3 separate regions of the Homo sapiens genome follow, and all the other regions are linked to region 2. Evidence: promoter capture Hi-C in 16 types of primary human blood cells and fetal thymus (Javierre and others, 2016). All regions are on one chromosome and are shown on one strand. The core of a region is centred on a gene start or on the middle of the fragment in contact, and the rest is flanking DNA. Distances in the headings are between cores, read along the strand shown. Region 1 has its middle 64 kb from the start of GTF3C3. Region 2 holds the start of BOLL (boule RNA binding protein). Region 3 has its middle 46 kb from the start of GTF3C3.

What was found. Contacts are between HindIII fragments. The CHiCAGO score rates a contact against its expected background, and 5 or more counts as called.
Region 1: a fragment that was not itself captured here is called in contact with the fragment with the promoter of BOLL in region 2 in 1 of 17 cell types (total B cells); the score reaches 5.4 in total B cells.
Region 3: a fragment that was not itself captured here is called in contact with the fragment with the promoter of BOLL in region 2 in 4 of 17 cell types (total CD4 T cells, activated CD4 T cells, naive B cells and 1 more); the score reaches 8.3 in total CD4 T cells.

What each region holds. Positions count from the first base shown.
Region 1 is chr2:196,734,265-196,737,173 of GRCh38, reverse strand. No RefSeq gene overlaps it. Among named protein-coding and RNA genes, the nearest start is that of GTF3C3, 64 kb to the left of the region's middle. The HindIII fragment of the contact is 303 bases long and covers 1,116-1,418 here.
Region 2 is chr2:197,783,927-197,786,719 of GRCh38, reverse strand. It overlaps BOLL (boule RNA binding protein), which reads left to right and starts at 1,401. Exons shown (of 11, transcript NM_033030.6): 1 at 1,401-1,664. RefSeq lists an enhancer at 1-225. The HindIII fragment of the contact is 5,410 bases long and covers 1-2,793 here.
Region 3 is chr2:196,751,817-196,754,556 of GRCh38, reverse strand. No RefSeq gene overlaps it. Among named protein-coding and RNA genes, the nearest start is that of GTF3C3, 46 kb to the left of the region's middle. The HindIII fragment of the contact is 3,642 bases long and covers 1-2,740 here.

The DNA of each region.
Region 1 (2,909 bases), core at 18-2,517, 1.0 Mb after region 2:
GCAATCCCATTACTGGAAACATACCTAAAGGAATATAAATCATTCTGTTATAAAGATTCATGCACGTGTATGTTCACTGCAACACTATTCACAATAGCAAATACATGGAATTAACCCTAAATGCCCATCAAAGAGAGGAGTAAACTCTCTTTACTGGTTTAAGCTTATATAGTTGTGATTTAGCTATCATATGCCTCTTATAACAAATATAAGCTTTACTAGAAATGATCATCAATCTAATTATGTCTTTCTCCCAATCTAGTATAGCCAATCTATACTATAAAGAAAATGTGGTACATATATACCATGGAATACTATGCAGCCATGAAAAGGAATAAGATCATGTCCTTTGCAGGGACATGAAGTTGGAAGCCATTATCCTCTGCAAACTGACACAGAAACAGAAAACCAAACACCATGTGTTCTCACTTATAAGTGGGAGCTGAATGATAAGAACACATAGACACATGAGTGGCAACAACACACACTGGGACCTATAGGGGGCAGGGTAGGGGGAGAAACAGCATCAGGAAGAATAGCTCATGGATGCTGGGCTTAATACCTAGGTGATGGGATGATCTGTGCAGCAAACCACCATGGCACATGTTTACCTATGTAACAAACCTGCACACTCTGCACATGTACCCCTGAACTTAAAATAAGAGAAAAAAAAAAACACCTTCAAATAGACACTTGCTAAAATCCTCTATAAAACAACCTATCACAGAACGAAAAAATTTGCCACAATATTAATCACTGATAGAAACTTTTTTAGCATGGCAAAGGATGTGGCCAGATAATGTTTCATCTGTAATGAAATTAATTTGGAAAAATTATAAAGGTGGGGTATGAACTAGAACCATACCCTAAAAGACTCTTTGAGTACATCCAAATGGATTGTATATAACTACTTGATTCTGTGTGTGTTATATACAGTAATAATGGTATATTTATTTTCTGGATGAATGGAAACATTCCCTTGTCAAAAAGCTAGCACTTAAAATGGCTAAAAAAGGATTCGAGTTTGTGTTTCCCACCAAGGATATTACATCTATCTAATAATACAGGGACACATTAAGCTGGAATGGTTTTTCATGATTTGAATTATACAAGCTTTGCTTTTTAAATGAACCCTTATTGCTCATATCACTTCAATCCTCTGGAAAAACAGAAAAGGTCTTAATAGAATCAGAAAGTTATACCCATTAGAGATTCCAAAGTTCTGTGAAGGGCTTTCAGAAGCAAATGATCTGCAGAAATTGACTGCCAACCCAAAAGCCTCAGAACAAGCAGATAACCACACAAAACAGGCAGCTTTGGCCTAAGACCATCCAAACAAGATTCTTCTGTCACATTCTCTTAACATACCTTTGTCTGTTATTCTGTTGGTCATACTCCTCTCTTTACTGGTTTAAGCTTATATAGTTGTGATTTAGCTATCATATGCCTCATAACAAATACAAGCTTTACTAGAAATGATCATCAATCTAATTATGTCTTTCCCCCAATCTAGTATAGCCAATCTAAAAATAACATAAAGGTATGTTAGATTAACTTTATCAATAATGATACCCTTTGAGGACAATACATAAGTGAAGAAAAAAGTCCTTGTTCTGGAAAAGGAGGATATAAATATTCTTGGCATATAACTGTGACTGTCATGACAACATAAGCGGTAATACATTTACAATCCATTAAGGTTGATCATCTCCCTTGTGTAGTAACTGGGATCCTTTTCCTTTGTGGAATTCAGCACCGAGGTTTTCAGTGCCAACCCTGGACCAAGGTTAATTATTCTGGGGGGCTCCTGGTTAGGCTGTTTTAAGGTTATAATTCCCCAATACCCTCAATTGACTATATATCTTTATAAAGAGCCCAAAGGGATAAATCCCTTTTTGGGGAGACTCCTGTGTTAGTCCATTCTCACACTGCTATACAGAACTACCTGAGACTGGGTAATTTATAAAGAGGCTTAATTGACTCACAGTTCCACAGGCTGTACAGTAGGCATTGGCTGGGGAGGCCTCAGGAAACTTATAATCATGGCAGAAGGGCAAAGGGGAAGCAAGCACATCTTCACATGGCAGTAGGAGAGAACAAGTGAACAGGGAGATTCTACACACTTTTAAACAACCAGATCTTGTGAGAAGTCACCCACTATCACAAGAACAGCAAGGGAGAAAACTGCCCCCATAATCCAATCACCTTCCACCAGGCCCCTCCTCCTCCAACACTGGGAATTACAATTCAACATGAGATTTGGGTGGGGACACAGAGCCAAACCATATCAACTCCTATGGATAGTGACCTATCCCATAGGAGTTTGACAACTTGAGGAGACCATAAAAAATGTGTTCTTTCACTTTAGCTGACCCAGTAAATAACACAGCCCAACCCTTGGAGACACAGCAAACAACTTAAATTTTTCATAACCAGGCGTCTTCTTAGTCTGTCTCTGCTGCTATAACAAAACAGTTGAGACTGAGTAATTTATAAAGAACAGACATTTACTTCTTACAGTTTGGGAGGCTGGGAAGTCCAAGATCAAGGTGCTTGCAAATTTCATGTCAAGTGAGGATCCCGTTCCCTATTTCTAAGATGGCACCTTGTTGCTGTTTCCTCCAGAGGGGCTGAATGCTGTGTCCTCACATGGTGGAAGGCAGAAGGGCAAAATGGCCCAAGCTAGTTCCCTCCAGCCCTTTAATGAGGCACTACTCCATTCATGAGGGCAGAGCCCCAAAGGCCCCCCACTTAATACCACTTCCCCAGAGGCCCTAAAGGCCCTCCACTTAATACTACCACAGTAAGAATTAAGTTTCAACATGAATTTTGGAGGGGACACATTCAAACCATAGAACCAAGGTAGTTATAGGTAATAAAATAGCCATGAATTATTTTCTTTTCCCAAC
Region 2 (2,793 bases), core at 152-2,651:
GCCACCCGCGCGGCCCCGCCCGCCTGGCGGGATGAGTGACGGCGGCAACAGGTGCAGAGCGGCGTCCGCGGCTTCTCGGGAGCCCCCGAGTTTTGCGAGTCAGGCCCCGAGAGTCAGAGTTTGACTCTAGAACCTTCTTCGCTTTACACCAGTCTTCGGAAGTCGCCCGTCAACCGGCTTCTTCTACCTCAGTAAAGCCTTAAGGTCACCTCAACCTCTCGAAACCCACCAGTCCCAGAGGCCGACTCTTCTCAAGTGGAGGAGAGGGGAAGGCGTGCATGGAGCTTTGCCTGACCGCTCGCTCTCTCCTCCCCAGCCGTCTGAGAGAAGGCGAGAGGGGTCCCAGAACCGAGCCCTCGCTCCGCACGCCCCACGCCCGCCCCGCTGTGCCGTGCGCTCTGCCCCTGAGACGCCCCGGCTCGGAGTCCCAGGGCCACAGCCGAAACTCGCCCTCCCGCGCCCCTCTCCGGCTTGCAGCGCCCGCCCGCACCGCCACCTGCCACCCGAGGCGACGCAGTCCGCTTCTCCCCACCCGCCAGGTGGCAGGTTCAGGGCCGGGGTCCGAGCCTGCTTCCCTGCAGCTGCCACAGCCACCCTCGCCGCCAGGGGGCGAGAGTCCCAGGCAGGACAAGCAGCGCTGCTGCCTTGGCGTGAAGGTGGTTTCAAACTTTAGGCTTCTTTTCCCTACCCCGCGTCTCTGAAGAGCAGAGAGGAAGATGGAAACCGAGTCCGGGCCGGTGAGTACGGCGATCAGGGCCCCAGGGCGCGGGATAGCGGGGAGAAGGAGCAGCGTGGAGCCTGTCCCTGAGGGCTTGGAGGGGCGAGGTGAAGGCCCCAAACGCTCGCTATCTGGTTGGGAAGAAACGTGGCCAGGTGCCCCATCGACCGCTGCCAGGAGCCACCCGCCCGCAGACCTCGTCTGGCTGTGTCATGGGGGTCAGAAAGGCGCCGCCACGGGGCCTGGACTGGGTGTAGACGGGCCAGGGGACCTCAGGCGTGGATGTTTCGGGAGGCGGCGGGCTGCCAGGCACCCAGCGAAGTCCGAGCAGGTAAACCGCTTTCCCGCCGAAATTGGGCTAGGCAGCGTCTTTGACGCTCCCTGCGGCCGAACTCGACCCAGCCGCCCAAGGCGAGGAGTTGCCAGGGCGGTCGACGCCTCCACTCCCCGACTGGTCAGCGAGGACCGGAAGGTCTGAGAGACCTGGCAGGGCCCGCCTGTGGCCCAGGCGGGACCCGGACACTCTAGCCCTGGCTGTGCACCCAAGCCAGTCAGGGTGGACTTGGGGAAGTGAAGGAGGACTGCCCGCACAGGCCCGAGGCGCAGCGGCAACGTGCCATCCCGCCCCGCCCCGTCCCGCCGCCAGCAGCCAATCAGGGAGCGCCGCGCGAGGGTGGGGACCAGCTGCGCACGAGGCCAGCGGCGGGGTCGCTGCCGTTGAGGCTTCCCGCCACTGCTGCTGGCGGATTTGTGGGGCAAAATTTCTCGCTGGCTAGCCTTCTTTTCCCTCCCGCACTTTGGTGGGGAGGGGGTGGATCCTCGTTTCGGTGCCCAAGTTCACGATGACCCGAGAGAACTCGAGGAAGTTGTCGCCGCGGCCATTTCCCCCAGTGCCGCAACTTGCTGGCCTTGGAGGGGGAGGAGCGCCGAGGCAGTGACTGCGACGGTTAGCCCGCCCGTTCCTGCTGTCTTCGTTTGCAAAATAGATGCTAGATCTCGAGGTTGATTCTCAAGGGGAGGGGCCAGTGAGGGCACATTGCTTTGGAGGAGTAGTTTAATAAACTCTCTAGTGCTGGAAGTTTTAGCAAACGGAGGAGCCTTCAAACCCGGCAACAGTCCCCATCTAGGTGTTTCCGTAACACATGCGGAATTATTGCTAGTGGAATTTCAGGCTTTCTTTGTTGTTTAACTCAATGCATCGCTAATTGTTTATAATGAACTTAGATGTTGCCTCCACCTGAGCCTTGCTATTGCTAACATTAAAATATTTTGTAGGCCTGGCGCGATGGCTCCCGCCTGTAATCCCAGCACTTTGGGAGGCCAAGGTGGGCGGATCACGAGGTCAGGAGATCGAGACCATCCTGGCCAAAATGGTGAAAACCCATCTCTACTAATACAAAAAAATTAGCTGGGCGTGGTGGTGCGCACCTGTAGTCTCAGCTACTCAGGAGGCTGAGGCAGGAGAATCTCTTGAACCAGGGAGGCGGAGGTTGCAGTGAGCCGAAATCACGCCACTGCACTCCAGCCTGGCGACAGAGCAAGACTGTCTCAAATATATATATATATATATATATATATATATATATATATATATATATATATATATATATGTATTAGACTGCTGTTATACTGTATTCTTTAGCCTTCAGCCTATTTGGCATATCATGAGCAGGTCTCTCCTGAAGAAATGATTCACTTTTAGTCATTCAACAGATATTTATTGAGCACCTGCTGTGTACTGTCAGTACTTTAGATGCTGCCATGAAAAAAGCAAAACTTCTGCCCTGGTGCATTACATAATAGTGGAGACAGATAATAAACATACTAAGTAAACTATATCGTATGTTAGAAAATGATGAGGGAGAAAACTTAAGCAGAGCGAGCCCACAATAGAGCCTTAGAGAGTGGAGGAGAATGAAGTGAATTGAGTGTGAAAGGTTGTTTTTCTTTTCTCAGGGAGTATCCTTTAGTTTCTCGAGATTGGAAATAAAGCACTGTTTACTTCCGTTCATTTCATCCTTCTCTCAATGAAATATAATGGGGTTTGTCTTTTACTTAAACTTGCGAACATATTA
Region 3 (2,740 bases), core at 127-2,626, 1.0 Mb after region 2:
GTATATTTAGAAAACCCTATCATCTCAGCCCAAAATCTCCTTAAGCTGATAAGCAACTTCAGCAAAGTCTTAGGATTCAAAATCAATGTGTAAAAATCACAAGCATTCCTATACACAATAACAGACAAACAGAGAGCCAAATCATGAGTGAACTCCCATTCACAAGTGCTACAAAGAGAATAGAATACCTAGGAATACAACTTATAAGGGATATGAAGGACCTCTTCAAGGAGAACTACCAGCCACTGCTCAAGGAAATAAGAGAGAACACAAACAAATAGAAAAACATTCCATGCTCATGGACAGGAAGAGTCAATATCATGAAAATGGTCATACTTCCCAAAGTAATTTACAGATTCAATGCTATCCCCATCAAGCTACCATTGACTTTTCACAGAATTGGAAACAACTACTTTAAATTTCATATGGAACCAAAAAAGAGCCCACATTGCCAAGATAATCCTAAGCAAAATGAACAAAGCTGAAGGCATCATGCTACCTGACTTCAAACTATACTACAAGGCTACAGTAACCAAAACAGCATGGTACTGGTACCAAAACAAATATATAGACCAATGGAACAGAACAGAGACCTCAGAAATAACATCACACATCTACAACCATATGATCTTTGACAAACATGACAAAAACAAGCAATGGGGAGAGGATTCCCTATTTAATATAATGGTTTCGGGAAAACTGGCCAGCCATATGCAGAAAGCTGAAACTGGATCCCTTCCTTACATCCTTACATCTTATACAAAAATTAACTGAAGATGGATTAAAGACTTAAACATAAGACATACAACCATAAAAACCCTAGAAGAAAACCTAGGCAATACCATTCAGGACACAGGCATGGGCAAACACTTCATGCTAAAACACCAAAAGCAATGGCAACAAAAGCCAAAATAGACAAATGGGATCTAATTAAACTAAAGAGCTTCTGCACAGCAAGAGAAACTATCATCAGAGTGAACAGGCAACCTACAGAATGGAGAAAATTTTTGCAATCTACCCATCTGACAAAGCACTAATATCTACAAAGAACTTAAACAAATTTACAAGAAAAAAAGAGCCCTATCAAAACCTGGGTGAAGGATATGAGCAGACACTTCTCAAAAGAAGGCATTTATGCAGCCAACAAACATATGAAAAAATGCTCATCATCACCATTATTAGAGAAATGCAAATCAAAACCACAATGAGATACCATCTCATGCCAGTTAGAATAGCGATCAATAAAAAGTCAGGAAAGAACAGATGCTGGAGAGGATGTGGAGAAATAGTAACACTTTTACGCTGTTGGTAGGAGTGTAAATTAGTTCAACCATTGTGGAAGACAGTGTGGTGATTCCTTCAAGGATCTAGAACCAGAAATACCATTTGACCCAGCAATCCCATTACTGGGTAGATACCCAAAGGATTATAAATCATTCTACTATAAAGACATATGCACACGTATGTTTACTGTGGCACTGTTCGCAATAGCAAAGACTTGGAACCAACCCAAATGCCCATCAATGATAGACTGGATAAAGAAAATGTGGCACATATACACCATGGAATACTATGCAGCCGTAAAAAAATGAGTTCATGTCCTTTGCAGGGACATGGATGAAGCTGGAAACCTTCATTCTCAGCAAACTATCACAGGGACAGAAAACCAAACACTGCATGTTCTCACTCATAGGTGGGAGTTGAACAATGATAACATATGGACACATGGAGGGAAACATCACACACCTGGGCCTGTTGTGGAGTAGGGGGCTAGGGGAGGGATAGTATTAGGAGAAATACATAATGTAGATGATGGGTTGCTGGGTGCAGCAAACCACCATGGCACATGTATACCTATGTAACAAACCTGCATGTTCTGCACATGTACCCCAGAACTTAAAGTATTTTAAAAAAAAAGACAGTGCTCCAACTTTGTGCTGGGAGCAAGTGTGATCACCTGTCAGGCCTTGGGGAAGCCAGCAAATCCCAGAGCAGCCTTTACCATTCATCTCAGCATACCTTACATATAGTGCTGTGTATTCTGTGTGCCACGAAACGAAAAAGTTTACCTTCGAGTTGCAGACTAAAGCCAGCTTTGGAATGAGTGAAAAACAATTCACATTAACTCTAGGAAATTTTTAAAGGCCAAAAATATCTTGATAATTTCAGCTGCTAAGTAACAGGATAGGTTTTTTCCCCCTCTCCTCAATATCTTTTCTCTTCCTATTCCCATTGTTTTCCTAGAGGGTCTCTCTGGTAAGCCCGAGAGAAAAGAGATGGTAAGGCGCTAACACACTGAAGTTCTGCTGCAAGTGTCAATGTTAACAATATAAAGGTCTGTTTGTCTTGCAGATAATTTACATGGAAAGGCCTAAAGTTTTCCTCCTAGGATGCACAGGACCTGTAGGAACCAAGTTAGCCTCTCCAGGGGAGAAAGAAAAAAACTGCGTGCCTCCTTGTGTACATAGCCATAATTCCTGGATTGTAGGGTACATGCATTTGAACACAGTACATGCTGCCACGATGCCCTCCCAAATGGCTGTATCAGTTGTGTGAGGATACCTGTTTCCCCACGCTTGCTTCAAACTTCATATTTTTGTCCCAACAGATATGTGAAAAATAATTGTTTCATTTGCATACTGGTTAAGTTGAAATCTATCTTTTCATATATTTATAAACCTTTTGGATTTTTCTTTCTTCTCTGGATCGCTTTTGAGATTCTCTGCCAATTTTTAAAAAA